2 separate regions of the Homo sapiens genome follow, and region 2 is linked to region 1. Evidence: promoter capture Hi-C in human tissues and cell types (Jung and others, 2019). All regions are on one chromosome and are shown on one strand. The core of a region is centred on a gene start or on the middle of the fragment in contact, and the rest is flanking DNA. Distances in the headings are between cores, read along the strand shown.

Region 1 (6,997 bases), core at 3,169-5,668:
AGACGGGGGGCCCTTGGCTCACTGCCAGGAATGCGCCAGCTCGCGCTAGTCCCCCAGCGTCGTCACCCTCGCTGTCCTCCTCCTCATGAGCCCACACATGTGGACCCAGTCTCTCTGAAGTGAGCTTTGTAGGACTCGGCGGCGAAGGGGACGAGAAAATACAGATGACAAAACGACGCCGAAAGGCTTGACCTCTGGGGCTAATCTCTCTGCCTCCGAGTAGATCCCGCGCTCCCAAATCCGGCGGGGGCGCAGTATGGTGAACCCCACACCTAGCTCCCTCAGCTGCGTGGGTTTCAAGCTGACCCAGGCGCCACCAGGCAGCCCCGAGTGGGCGAGTCAAGTGCAACTTCAAGGTCAATGTGCCTCTGACTGGGGCCTGGAGAGCTGCCAAGAATGCTGGGCTTGGAGCGCTGGGGTCGCGCCCCGCTACTGCGCCTTGGACCCCGCAGTGGAGGGCGCTGAGACCGCACCCCCCTCCCCGGGCAGTTTTCAGGAGAGGGTCCAGCTGGGGTCTCCGCGGTGGGGTCCAGAAACGATATTCCGGGTTGGATTCTTCCTCGGTTGGGGAAGCACAGCTGGCGGAGAATTCCCACGGCTCTCAGTGGATTCGCTTTTCCAGAGCTGTTCTCAAGCAAAGTTGTCATTTTTGCCAAACTTTGTTTTTACTTTTTAGACTGTTCTGAAAGAGATAAATTGAAAAACACAGAGAGACAATTTTCCTTCTCAGAAGATACACATAGCTACCCAAATTCAGACTTGTAACTTTTCAAACTAGTGAAGTAATAAACTATTTATCAGTACTATAAAAATAACAAAGACGAACTTCTGGCTTTACTCTTTAGAGTAGATTATGTTCCATTCTGATTTTACTTGGGTTCCTATCTCAAATTTCAAGCAAATATCAAGATGATCATTAAGAAATTTAAATAGTACCTAGAAATTAGTTTGGTCTGCAGCTCAATGCACTAATTTCAATGCGGTGCTGTCTGCTGAATATTTTAAACTCCTTTCAAAGCAGTAGGTGTATTCCCTCCCGCAGTAACAAAACGATATTCATCTTTACACAAGGTGCTCTGGCGTTTATAATTTGGTATCCAACACCCGGCCGAGAATGTTCCCTTTCCTGATGCTTTGGCCAACCGGCCTCGATAAGCCAACCAGCCCAGAACCAGGGGCGCTGGGCTGGGTGTTCCTCGGGGACGGCGCCCACTGCCCGCTTGGTCCCTGGAGTGTCCCGAGCTGCCTCCCATACCCCTGCTGCGGACAGAGTGGGGGCAGTCCTCTGCCTCTGTTTCCCAACTGCTTTGGTAACTCAGTGACTCTCTGTGAAACTGCAGAGTCAGAGGACTTCCCTTCCGTAGTTTTCATTCTAAGCGGTCATCTGTGAGTCAGAAGATTTCGCCGTGGCCTGATTTCCCACCCTTTCTGCCCGCGCAAGCCGAAAGCGCTCATGTTGGCTTTTCCTTTGCCACTTTTCCAACTTGCCAGTTCCATCAGGAGCCCGGATCCTTGCCCAGCTTCTTGGCGGAGCCAAGTTCGAGCGCACAGATTTCCCGAGCTCCAGCGGCCAGGGGGCACTGTGTGAGCGGCTGACGTCACCCCTCCGCCCGGCCGAAACCAGGCGGCGGGATCCCACACAGTTGAGGAGAGGGAGCCGAGGCCGTGACTTAGGGCTGGCGACGATTAAACCAAGTAACGAGACACCGGGCAGATGTGTTTTCATTGCCCTGTAAGATAAATGCAGTGTTAAGTGCCTGACAACTTCCCAGAAGCAATCAGCAAAAGTTTACGAGTGCATAAACCTCAAAGACCATTCCCTATCGGTTGTTATAAGGCCGGTATTTAGAGCTTCCATAAATTCTTCGGCCTTTTCCCAAAGCAAAGTTTTCAGCGACTATTAAGCAGCCACCTCCTCCGGGAAGACTAGGGGGATTTTCTTGAATTACAAAAGGAAGAGGCTTTTGGCTCCTACCGAGTAAAATGAAGTTGTGCAAAAGTTTGTTCCAGAAGCTTGGATGGCCAGGGAGAGGAGGGAGGTGGCAGGAGGTCGTGGAGATGGGGTCGGGAAGGGCCACGAGATGCGCTCAAGTGTTTGTTGCCTAAGGGCGAAAGACAAAGGTCCTGCGAAGATCCTGGGTCTAGCTGAGCTGGCAGGGCCTTTGCCGCCCTCAGTGTCGCCCCTGCTCTGCCATCCCGGCTCTGCCGCTCACAGCCCCGCATGGCACCCCCCACCAGTCCCTGACATGATCGATCCTTCGCCCTTCAAATGTCCACTTCGGGCCGGCAAGAATCCTGGCGCCCCGCAGAAGGTGGCAGCCCACAAAAAGGGCAAGCTGGCTGGAGAACTAAGTCAGACATTGTGAGATGTGTCCCCATCCTGCCCAGAGCCACGACCGGGCCAGCCTCCGCCCTCCCGAAAGTGACCCAAGGACTTTGATAAGTTAGTGTCATGCATACACGACCCACCTATGTTTAGAGAGAACCTTTGTTTATGATCCCAGTGAAAACAAAGCTGCTAATTGAAAAACAATAACACTAGCGTGTCTTTAGCTTTCTAAAGGGAGAGGTTAACAGCTGCGAACGCCGGGGGAGGGACGGTGGGAGGGGTGCGGTGAGCGAGGGGCTGCCCTGCATGTAAACAGCCTCGGGGTCCCAGACGAGACAAGTGGGACCGCTCAAGCCTGCAGAACCCCCGGTCTCGGTCCCAGGCACAAGAGCCTCCCGTAGCCCCGCCTGATCTTTCTCAGTCTTTAGGTTCCAGGACATCCAAAGGAGCGTAGGTAACCGACGTCTACGTAGTATTTCTGTCCCCGGAAGACTGGATCTCAGGGAATTATTATGGAAGATACTGCTGAGCCCCTTTCATCCTTTCCAGGTGAAAATACAGACATTTTTGTGTCGCCCTCACCCTTCCTTTATGAAATAAGGTGCCCAACTGTTCTGATATTACCATTCAAAAACAGGTTCTGTGGCGAACCTCATTTGTGAATCTATTACAGAGATTAATAGATTATTTCTCCTTTTTCAACTAATTCTCAGTGGGGAAATTTAACCATATGGTAAGGAGAGAATTAGAATTTCATCACATTAGAGCAAAATGTAATGAAAAGAGTCCAACACCTGGGGCCAACTCCGAAAGCCACAATTAAAAGGTTTTTAATGAAACCAGAGAAACCAAAAATTGCATAGTCTTCAGTACTTCTGCCATATAAGAAAGAGTTATTGGAAGGTGTTGGGAAATATTGTTTTTACTTATGTCATAAGGATGAAAACCAGCTGCTAAATACCATGTGTACCCAGAGACCGAACTCAGGAGTGAGATGACCGCGTGTACCAGTGCCCATCCGGAGAGGAGCACTTGTTTTTACATTCTCCCTTCCCGAACCCTCCAAGAACAACCGAGGCTGATCCAGATGTCCTTAAATGGCTTCCGGGTAAATAAATATGCATAAATGCCTCACTTCGTGTGGGAGCGGATTTGACTCCTGGTGAAGTTGACTCTTTTGAAGCAATCAGATTTTCATCTTAAGGAAAGTTTGAGAAACCGGTTTGTTTGTTTGTTTTCTTCCTGTTTAGGAAATTGTGTACTTCACAATTACCATCACTGTAACAGTTATTTGGAGACCACTGCAAAATCACTGCCACCCCACCTTAAAAAAAAATGGGCTGCATGATCACTTGCTCTTCATTTTGCTTTTTTCTTTCTTTTTTTCCAATCTGGGTAGGAAATGGGCAGTGGCGGGTGTGGAAACGAGGCAGAGTGTTCGGGGGGACGACTGCTTTGCTCTCTGACCAGCTGAAAACCTAGAGTGAATTTTGGGCAAGCCAGCTGGGACACCACCTTCTCTCGGAAAGTCCCATCCCCAAATCCAGACCAGTCATCCTACGAACAGGGGTGGAGTATAATTCTCGCCCGGAAGGGTAATTTAGCACAAGCTGAGACAGCAGTGGCGAGGGAAGGGCAGTGGGGGGTGGGGTGCGGTGGGTGGGGGCGTCTGCTTTCCACAGGACTCCCAGGCTTCGCCGCCGATCTACAATTTGCTGAAGGAGCAAAGAACATCCTCGGCTCTAAGTAGGGCTTTTAGTGTGCTCATTGATGAGTGAAAGTCGCCACACATGTCAAGCTAAAGGCAGTTGTTGGGTTACTAACAGGACCCAGCGCCTTGCAAACATATGCGCTAAGCTGTGTATACAGATGGCAGGCAGAATAATGGAGCAGGCGCCTTTTATAAAGCTCTAGCTGCTGCCTGTCTTCAGACCTGGGAAATGAAACTATTCAGACTTGCGGCCAGATAGCGCCTGCGATTGTTTGTTACCGTTTTAATCCTATTAATTAAAACGTTAACCTGATTGGGTAGAAAGCGCTGTCCCAACAGGCGAGTCTTCTTCATAATAACCTACTCAGAGATAATGATGTAAAAGACTCCCCCGTCTGTGGCGGCGGCTGTTTGATGGGTCCGGAAATCTCTTGAAGGTGAATCCAAGCAAGATAAACGGTGCGGAGAGGAGGCGCGGGGCTGGGCTCAGAGCGGCGGCGGCGGCGGCTCCACTCCCTCCGCGCCCACCCTCCCACCATGCGGGGCCGCGGCCCATGGTGAGCCCCAGCAGCCAGCACCATCGGCTGGAGACGAAGAAGAAGAAGAAGAGGAGGCGGCGAGCGCGGGGGAAGGCGAAAAAGAAAAAGAAAGAAGGGGAGAGGGCTCCCGGCAGCACCAGGACCGACGCGCGCACCAGCTCCGGAGCCCAGCTCGCGCGCGTCTGTGGGGCCGCCTGACTCCGGGGCCGAGGCGGCGGCGGCGGCAGCGGGCGCGGCGGCCCGGGCTGCGCGCCGGCGCGGGACCATGGAGCGCGGGATGCACCTCGGTGCAGCGGCCGCCGGCGAGGACGACCTCTTCCTGCACAAGAGCCTGAGCGCCTCCACCTCCAAGCGCTTGGAAGCGGCTTTCCGCTCCACGCCCCCGGGCATGGACCTGTCCCTGGCGCCGCCGCCTCGGGAACGCCCGGCGTCCTCCTCCTCGTCGCCCCTGGGCTGCTTCGAGCCGGCTGACCCCGAGGGGGCAGGGCTGCTGTTGCCGCCGCCTGGAGGAGGCGGCGGCGGCAGCGCGGGAAGTGGCGGCGGCGGCGGCGGCGGGGTGGGTGTCCCCGGGCTGCTAGTAGGTTCAGCCGGCGTTGGGGGCGACCCTAGCCTAAGCAGCCTGCCGGCCGGGGCCGCCCTTTGCCTCAAGTACGGCGAAAGCGCGAGCCGGGGCTCGGTGGCCGAGAGCAGCGGCGGCGAGCAGAGCCCCGACGACGACAGCGACGGTCGCTGCGAGCTCGTGCTGCGGGCCGGAGTAGCCGACCCGCGGGCCTCCCCGGGAGCGGGAGGTGGTGGCGCGAAGGCAGCCGAGGGCTGCTCCAATGCCCACCTCCACGGCGGCGCCAGCGTCCCCCCGGGGGGCCTGGGCGGCGGCGGCGGCGGGGGTAGCAGCAGCGGTAGCAGTGGCGGCGGTGGCGGTAGCGGTAGCGGCAGCGGCGGCAGCAGCAGCAGCAGCAGCAGCAGCAGCAAGAAATCCAAAGAGCAAAAGGCGCTGCGGCTTAACATCAATGCCCGAGAGCGCCGGCGGATGCACGACCTGAACGACGCGCTGGACGAGCTGCGCGCGGTGATCCCCTACGCGCACAGCCCCTCGGTGCGAAAGCTCTCCAAGATCGCCACGCTGCTGCTCGCCAAGAACTACATCCTCATGCAGGCGCAGGCCCTGGAGGAGATGCGGCGCCTAGTCGCCTACCTCAACCAGGGCCAGGCCATCTCGGCTGCCTCCCTGCCCAGCTCGGCGGCTGCAGCGGCAGCAGCTGCTGCCCTGCACCCGGCGCTCGGCGCCTACGAGCAGGCAGCCGGCTACCCGTTCAGCGCCGGACTGCCCCCGGCTGCCTCCTGCCCGGAGAAGTGCGCCCTGTTTAACAGCGTCTCCTCCAGCCTCTGCAAACAGTGCACGGAGAAGCCTTAAACACACCCCCGAAAAACACAAGACCGACCCAAAATCTAGAGGAAAGCGAAAAGCTGCTCCCCACCCCCTTTATTTTGGTCCTCTCGTAGTTGTGAAACACTTGCAGAGCAAACAAAGCAGAGGCAAGAACTGAGGAGAAGTATCAGAGACAAACGGGACTTTTAGCCTTGACATCCCCAGAATCTCGGTCTTTGGGGTGGGGAGGGAGGGAGGAGGGAGGTGGAGTTGGGATGGAGTATGGATGTCTTTTTTTTCTCAGAAAAGTGGCAACTTTGGTGGCAGCCTAGACCGCGAGGAAGTGGAATCTTCCTTAAAGGTGAAACATAAGTTGAGAAGTAGTGCTTGGTTATTAAGCCTGGAGAGTGTTTGAATGGCAAAATACTAATCCTACTAATAATTGTGGATTTGGCTAGTGCTGAGGGGGAGAGGAGGGGTTAGGGGTTGGGTAGCATGAGAGATGGAATATTCATTCAGACAAATCAGAAAGGGCACTTGAAAATAAATTTTGATTCTGAGCCAGGAGAAAAACTTGAAATGTTGACTTAAGTGAGGGGGAAATAAAACCCAGAGAGAGAGAGAGAGCGAGAGAGAGAGACATGTTACTATGAAAGACTTGTATTTTTTATTGTCTCTGAACTTTAATCCTGTGAAAATGCTCAAAGTTTTGGCGAGAGTGATATAAAAAAACTGACTGTGGCTGAAAGAATTGCATTTAAAAATATTTATGTGCACCTTGTTACTTTCTACTCTGCAATGATGTATTAACAATTCATGGTATTTATTTGTTATTCTTCAATGACCCTTCCACATCAACAGTATTTATCATGTGTTAAAGTCATGGGTCTTATGTGCAGATTTTTTTAATGCCTCTAAAATTGTTTTATAGATTACTTATGCTGTGTGCCAAGTGTTTAAAGGTTTATTTGCCAACAAGTATGAAGAGAAATATTGATGTATCTGAGCTGCTTAGGTTTATGAAAGGTCACCTGGATATTTTCAGTTGCATC
Region 2 (7,586 bases), core at 95-2,594, 160 kb after region 1:
TGTCTTTTGTTACGGGGAAGGGGGAGGTCCCAGCAAATAACTCACAAAAAGTAGAGAGAAAATTATAATTCTTCCCCTACAATTCTGGCAATGAGAATGGGATCTGTGGGACATCCCATTTGCTGTGGAGCCTGCAGATGGGATCCTGGGAAAACTGGAAAAGGGTAAGAATTCTCACAGAGGGACTCTAGTGTATCTGTCTCCACAGTGCCTGATCGAGAGAGAAAGGTAAAATTATGTTTCTTCCCCTACAATACTAATATAAGTTGTAAAGCATGCTTAAAAGAAGAAATTTTTAAAGGCATAATTAAAAAATAAAAATAAATTTTTAATGTTTTCACCCATGCCCTAAGTATTATATACTTCCTGGTGAGTAAATGCCTTTTATCTTCTGACAACATCAAACAATAATTATCACTACAGAATCAAGGTATCTAGAAAAATAAATTAATTTATCAGGAAGTCTTTGTGTTTACATCCCTATTATGGAAATAAACACACACCTTGAATGTGTCACTAAAAATATAGATCTTGATTTTGCCATTTCCACGAGAAAAACACCCATATAAATCCCAAATCAGTCACTTCTTCAACTTCTTCTACCAATATTAGATTCAAATCATTGCAATCATCTGACATATGCTTCTCTTCCCTTAGTGCTCCATCCATCTCTTATGGAATGTTCAGATGACACACGAATGGATCAAATGGAAAAAGAAGGCTGGGCAAGAGAAACAAAAAATGCAAGAAAATACAAACAAATATCTTCGCTTTAGTCAAAAACTAACCCAACCTGAATTTTTATTTATTTTATTTTTTTGAGACAGACTTTTGCTCTGTTGCCCAGGCTGGAGTGCAGTGGCATGATCTTGGCTCACTGCAACCTCCGCCTCCTGGATTCAAGCAATTCTCCTGCCTTAGCCTCCCAAGTAGCTGGGACTACAGGTGCCTGCCACCACACCCAGCTAATTTTTGTATTTTTAGTAGAGATGGGGTTTCACCATGTTGGTCAGGCTGGTCTCGAACTCCTGACCTCGTGATCCTCCCGCCTCAGCCTCCCAAAGTGCTGGGATTACAGGTGTGAGCCACCACACCTGGGCTGAATTTTTTTTTAATTCCTGGGAGTTTCAAAAATTTTATTTTCTTGCTCTCTTTTAGTTACTTTTCATTTTACCAAATCCATATCTCAAATCTAATCTAATTCTGTCTACTGTCTATAACAGATATGTTATTTTAAATTTTTACCTAGTAATACTTGAGGCTGAACTGTAAAATCTCTAAGGACAGAGGCATGTCTATCTTTTCTACCCTTATATTCTTGGCACAATACCTGACTCTCAATAAGTATGTTTTAACAAATAAATTAATGAGACAGAAAACATTTTCTAGAGCTCTCTGTGTACAGTGATTATATAGTGAATGAAAAATATCCTAAATCAGTCCATTTTTAAAAATCTATTTTGTGTGTGTGATATTGTCTCACTTTGTCACCCAGGCTAGACAGAGTGCAATGATATGATCATAGCTCACTGCAACCTTGAACTCCTGGACTCAATCAATCCTCTGGTCTCAGCCTCCCGAGTAATTGGAACTACAGGCATGGGCCACCATGCCTGGCTCCATTTAAAGATTATCCCTCAATATAAAGAAAAAATGTACATAATTCTTGTTTTGTTTTTCTTTTTAATGAAAAAAGAGAACAAAAGAAACAGCTACATTGGCAAGTCTGTTAGATTTGGACCACTTTGGCCATGTAAAATCTCAAATAGCAAAACTAAAAGTGATAAAGTGCACTAGCTCAAATCCAGTACTCTCAGCTTGGCATTAAAATCTGTAAAGCATAATCCAGCTTTTTCATCCTGCTAGTTCCCTCATTAAAGAGTTAAATAAATGTTAATGCATGTTCTTTCCATATTTGTATAAGAATCATATTTTTAACTTTTCAAAAATTATGCCTTGTAAGTACCAAGATGCCTGAGAAGTCAATTAAACTGCATTGCCTGAAAATATACCTCCTAGGCTCCTCTTCTCAGTCCATCTTTTCTTGGATCCTGGAATGAAAGGATTCCAAGAGGCAACAGAATTTCAGGTTTGCTGACTAAATTTTTCTATTTTTTTTCTTCTGACTTGTGTTTTTGTTTGTTTGGTTTTTGTTCTTGGCCAATGTTGTTCTTATTCTTGCTTGTGCATAGCCAACAGGTTATTCCCGATTGGTGGCAGCAGTAACTGGGAATTTGGTTTTATGTTCTACTTATTTGGTGATCTCTTTTGTGTAGAGACAGGAATTGCCCTTTTTCAGATGAGAGACAACAGAGATACTGGTTTGTTAGTCTTTTTGCTTTCCTGTCTGTCTGTGCAAATGTATGTCTTACCTTCCATTGAAAAGGAGACTCTCTTTCAGATATGAATTTTTATATTCTAGGTTTATTCTGACCTAGAGCTGAATATGTAAAAGTAAAGCTGTAAGTTCTCTGAGTATCTGCATACCTCTACTGAGAAAAGAATTTACTTCTCATGTGTAATTGTAAAAATACTTTTCTAACTCTGGAGTAATTAAAAATTTATATTGTGAAGTCTCTAGAAATAAAAAAGATTGTGATTGGTTTATAGATACCAATAAGCACTCCATATATTTAGCATTCTTAAAAATCCCAGAAAAGTTTTTTCAAAAACTGAATTTCTAACACTTTAAATGTGCTACTCTATTAAGAAAGAAAAAAAAATCTTCTCAAAGAAACTACTAGCTCAGCAGCATTTTCCTATAAGAAGCTATGTTCACAGAATCGTTGGCAAATCAGATCATTGTTCTCTTTTCAGTGTTTGATCACTGATTTAAAAGAAACTGTTTTCTCCCTAATTTTATCAGGATAGAATATAATACAAGAAAACACACACACACGCACACACACACACACACGCATATAAAACATAATTTGGGTTCCTTTTCTAATCAAGATACTAACTAAACTTCTGGTTTCAGCTCCAATATGTAAAGAGCTGGGAAGTCATCACTTACGTCTGTACAAAAAGAAAAGCTAAATGAACTAAAAATCAACAATTTTTCTTGGAAGCTTCAGAGAACTGAGCTTGCAGGGCAAACTGCCACCCCAAAATCTGGAGAACCAGGCTAATCCAAAGAGTTGACAGCCAAGATCAGTTTACCTGAAACAGAAGCCACTGGAGTCATAAACTGGTAGGAAACACTTAAATGGTAATTTTGACAAATTCCTGGGGGGTGAGTGTGGACTAGTATTAACAGTGAGAAACTCCTGGGAGCCATAGTCTTGGGCTCCCCAACACTTTTATGGGTTTTACCTCCAGGAACCCTGCCATGTTCTCACAGAGAAGAGCTAAAACAGATTCCCTTCTGTCTCTGGCAGGCAGAGGGAAAGAGTATTTGTGAAATATTCAGAGCATTTTCTATAACAAAGGCTTAGTCTCCAGGGGAAAGATTTTACCAGAGCCTTACCCCCGCCCCAGGCACAGGGCATTTCTCCTAGTGGACTTTCTCTAGCTTTTCTGTCTCACCTAAGGGAATTGAGGGAAGCTAAGAAACATTGGTGAAGGTCACAGCCCAGGAATACAGGCCCCCTAAAAGACTGAGATTTAATCATAAGATTATGGAATGCTTTTCCTCTCCCATGCCTTACCACTATATTAGCAGGACTCTGGTATAATGGTAGTTTACTGGGAAGAGTAGAAAACACATAGACTCTATTTAAGGAAGAATTCCTAGCGAAGCTCAAGGACAAAAGTGGAGACAAAAACGAGAACACTAGAGGAAGTTGAGGCCCCTGGCACCTACCACTACATCAAACATTAAACACAGCCTAACACCTAGCAAGACTTCAATAAATTCTCTAACTAAAATGTCTGTTTACCTCAAAGAATGAAGAAAACAGAATAGGCCATGAAAGAATTGTGGGACAATTTCAAAATGTGTAACAGATGTATCATTAGAATACTAGAAGAAAAGAGAGATCAAAATGGAAGAAATATTTGATGTAATAATGCCTTCGAATTTTCCAAATTAATGACAGACATGAAATAACATACACAGAAAATTCAAAGAGCACCAAGTGGTTCTCCTGAATATTCACATCTTGACATATCATATTCAAACTAAAAAACAAATAGATTAGAGAAAATCTTGAAAGAAACCAGAAGAGGATAAGAATTATGGTAGACTTCTTTTCATTCAAGAAAGAAGAGTGGATTGAAATATTTAAAGTGTTGAAAGGAAAAAAATCAACTTAAAATTTGATATCCACCAAAATTATCCTTCAAAACTGAAAGAGATATATAGAGACCTTTTTCAGACAAAAACAGGGAATTCATCACTAGACAACCTACCCTGCAAGAAATGTTAAAAGAACTTCTTTAGGGAGAAGAAAAATGATATAGATTAAACAAAACAAAACATGGATCTATATAGAGAGGAAGAACACTGGAGAAGAAAAACCCGTAAAATAAACATTCCTCTCAAGCTTACAGAGAACACTTAACAAGACAGACCACATCCTGGGCTGTAAGTCACACCTTAACAAATTTAAGAGATTATACAAAGTGTTTTCTCAGACCACAGTCAAATTAAGCTAGAAATCAAAAATTGAATAAAAGCTGAAAAATCTCCACATATTTGCGAATTAAACAACAAATTCCTAAATAAAACATGGGTCAAGGAAGTACATCAGTCAATAATATATATATTTACATATTATGTTTATGATATAACTGCATAAATTATAAAAGAAGATCTATAATCAATAATTTAGCATTCAACTCAAGAAATTATAGAAATGAGCAACTTAAGCATAAAGCAAGCAGAAGAAATGAAATAGTATACCTTATAAAAGACAAATAAAATTACAATTAGGAAAAAAATAGAGAAAATCAACAAAACCAAAGGTGACTGTTTGAAAATATCAATAAATTTGATAAATCTCTAGCCAGGCTAACAAGAAAAGAAAAAAAAAACAGAGAAGATATAACTTGCCAATATTAGAAATGAAAGAGGGGTAATCACTATAGATCCAATGAATGTTAAAAGATTCATATAGGAATATTATGAAAAACTCTATGCCCACAAATTTCACAACTTAGTTGAAACGGGCCAATTCCTTAAAAGACATGAACTACCAAAACTCATAAAAGGAGGAATATATCTTTTGAATAGGCCTATATCTATCAAAAAAAATCCAGTTCCTAACTAATAATCTCCCAAAAAGAAAGCACCAGGACCAGATGATATAAATGGCAAATTTTTTCAATCATTTAAGGACAAAATAATACCAATTCTGTATCATTTCTTCCAGAACACTTCCTAACTCATCGTATGAGGCCAGCATCACTCTAATAGCAAAACCAGATAAAGCCATTACAAGAGAGAGTGACAGACCAATGTGGTTTTATTGAGGATGCAAACAAAATTTAACATAATATTTAATAGTGAAAAACTGGATGCTCTTTCCCTAAGTTAGAGATTAAGGAAAGAATGTCCCCTTCACTACTCCCATACAACACCTTACTGAAAATTCTAGCTAGCTTTATAAAATAAAGAAAAACCAGAAAATAAAATAAAAGGTGTACAGACTGGAAGATACAGTGAAGGAGGAAGAAATAAAATTTTCTTTGCGCATAACATGATTCTTCTATGTGGAAATCACAGAGATTTGAACATTTTTTTTTTTGAGACAGTTTTGCTCTTGTTGCCCAGGTTGGAGTGTAATGGCGCGATCTCGGCTCACTGCAACCTTCACCTCCCGAATTCAAGTGATTCTCCTGCCTCAGCCTCCCGAGTAGCTGGGATTACAGGCATGCACCACCATGCCCAGCTAATTTTGCATTTTTAGTAGAGACGAGGTTTCTCCATGTTGGTCAGGCTGGTCTCGAACTCCTGACCTCAGGTGATCCCCCACCTTGGCCTCCCATAGCGCTGGGATTACAGGCATGAGCCATCGTGCCCAGCCCCCAAAAATTCTTAAACAAATAATCAATTATAGCAAGGTTATAGGATACAAGGTTAATATATAACAGGAAATTACTCTCATACATACCAGCAGTAAAATTGGAGTTTGAATTGAAAAGCACAATACCATTTACAGTAGCACCAAAATGAATGAAATGCTTGTTATAAGCTTAACAAAATGTGTACAGGATATATATGCAGAAAACTACAAAACTCTAATAAAAGAAATTAAAGATATAAATATATGGTAGAGATAAACTATGTTCGTTAATTGGAAGGCTCAATATTGTTAAGATGTCAATTCTTTCCAACATGATCTATAAATTCAACAGAATCTCAATCAAATCCCAGCAAGCTTTTTTGTAGATATCAACAGAGGCTAGTTAGTATAAACTTCCTTAACTTCTTATACTGATTTACTGATCAGATAGATTAACACTGTTCTCATATAAAATCTATGATTATGAAAAATAGAAAATTATGTATCTGTTCAAACAAATGGAATTATAATTCTGACAAATATTTCATAACCACAGAAATTATGATCTGTACTGTCAATTTAAATATAATTTTTAAGATCTTTAGTTAATGTAAATACTGAAAAAATATTACACTGAGTTGATCAATAGATAATCTTTGAATATTTGTATATTTCCAAGTGTAATAGAATGCTAAGCCATTAGTCCCAAACATCGTTTTAATGTATGCATTTTGGCCTCCTATTTTTATATTTGCGGAGTAGTTTTAAGAGAGTAGAAACAGTAGTGGTAGAGAAATGTGTTAAAATTTTGCAAAACTTTCTGTTTTGATGGATTTATTAATAAGAAAAAAAAGACCATGAATGCTTTACTGTAAAATGTTATATTAGAATTTTATATTCTCTGTTAAAATATAATTTTAATTTGTTAGGGCTGCCATAACAAAACACTACACTCTGGGTGGCTTAAACAAGAAAAATTTATTTTCTCGCAGTTCTGGAAGCTAAAAGTCCAAGATCAAGGTGTCCACAGGGTTAGTCCAAGATCAAGGTGTCAACAGGGTTGACTTCTTCCAAGACCTGGCTCCTTGGCTTGTCTTCTCACTGAGTCCTCACCTGACCTTTCCTCCAGAGGCACACATCCCTTGTGCTTCCGTGTGTACCTCCTTTTATTATGACACCAGTCAGATTGGTCTTGGAGAATTTAGTCTATTCTTTATCAGAGGTAGCAAAAAGTTTTTTCCTTTGTAACCCTCCATATGTCCTCAGAATAATTTCCTACTCTTTGCATACTTTATCATGTATTTGATTGTTATAAAAAGTTTTTCATTTCTAAATGCTAGGGTTCATTATAATTTCATTTCCTTCTTCTATGTTTATTTACAAATTTTGTATTGCTACTTTGACTAACAGGCAGCCAAGCCAACGCCAATCTTTCTTCCAAGGTACCTATGATACCCTCTTAATGAAATAATCGAATTTTCACCGACAACTCTAGATTTTGCCTTCCTAAGATCAGAAGTCAGATTAGCCAAAAAACAAATAAACAAAAAAACAAACAAAACATTTTCCATTTTTTTAATATTTAAACTATCTCTGGGGTTTCCCAGAGGGCTCCTGGACATTCACAAAGATCTGTTC

What was found. The method cuts DNA at HindIII sites, captures the fragments that hold promoters and counts their contacts. A contact is called where the count stands out against the background at its distance.
Region 2: a contact is called between a fragment that was not itself captured here and the fragment with the promoter of BHLHE22 in region 1, in 1 of the 25 tissues and cell types used here (lymphoblastoid cells).

What each region holds. Positions count from the first base shown.
Region 1 is chr8:64,575,947-64,582,943 of GRCh38, forward strand. BHLHE22 (basic helix-loop-helix family member e22) reads left to right here and starts at 4,419. Exons shown (of 1, transcript NM_152414.5): 1 at 4,419-6,997. The coding sequence starts at 4,845. The coding sequence ends at 5,990. It overlaps LOC124900252, which reads right to left and starts at 4,066. Exons shown (of 2, transcript XM_047422518.1): 1 at 1,976-4,066; 2 at 1-1,730. The coding sequence starts at 2,223. The coding sequence ends at 1,373. BHLHE22-AS1 (BHLHE22 antisense RNA 1) reads right to left here and starts at 5,946. Exons shown (of 2, transcript NR_152770.1): 1 at 5,772-5,946; 2 at 1-682. RefSeq lists an enhancer at 5,207-5,286. The HindIII fragment of the contact is 20,885 bases long and covers 314-6,997 here.
Region 2 is chr8:64,735,649-64,743,234 of GRCh38, forward strand. All of the region lies in intron 1 of CYP7B1 (cytochrome P450 family 7 subfamily B member 1), which reads right to left. Among named protein-coding and RNA genes, the nearest start is that of CYP7B1, 59 kb to the right of the region's middle. The HindIII fragment of the contact is 4,869 bases long and covers 1-3,779 here.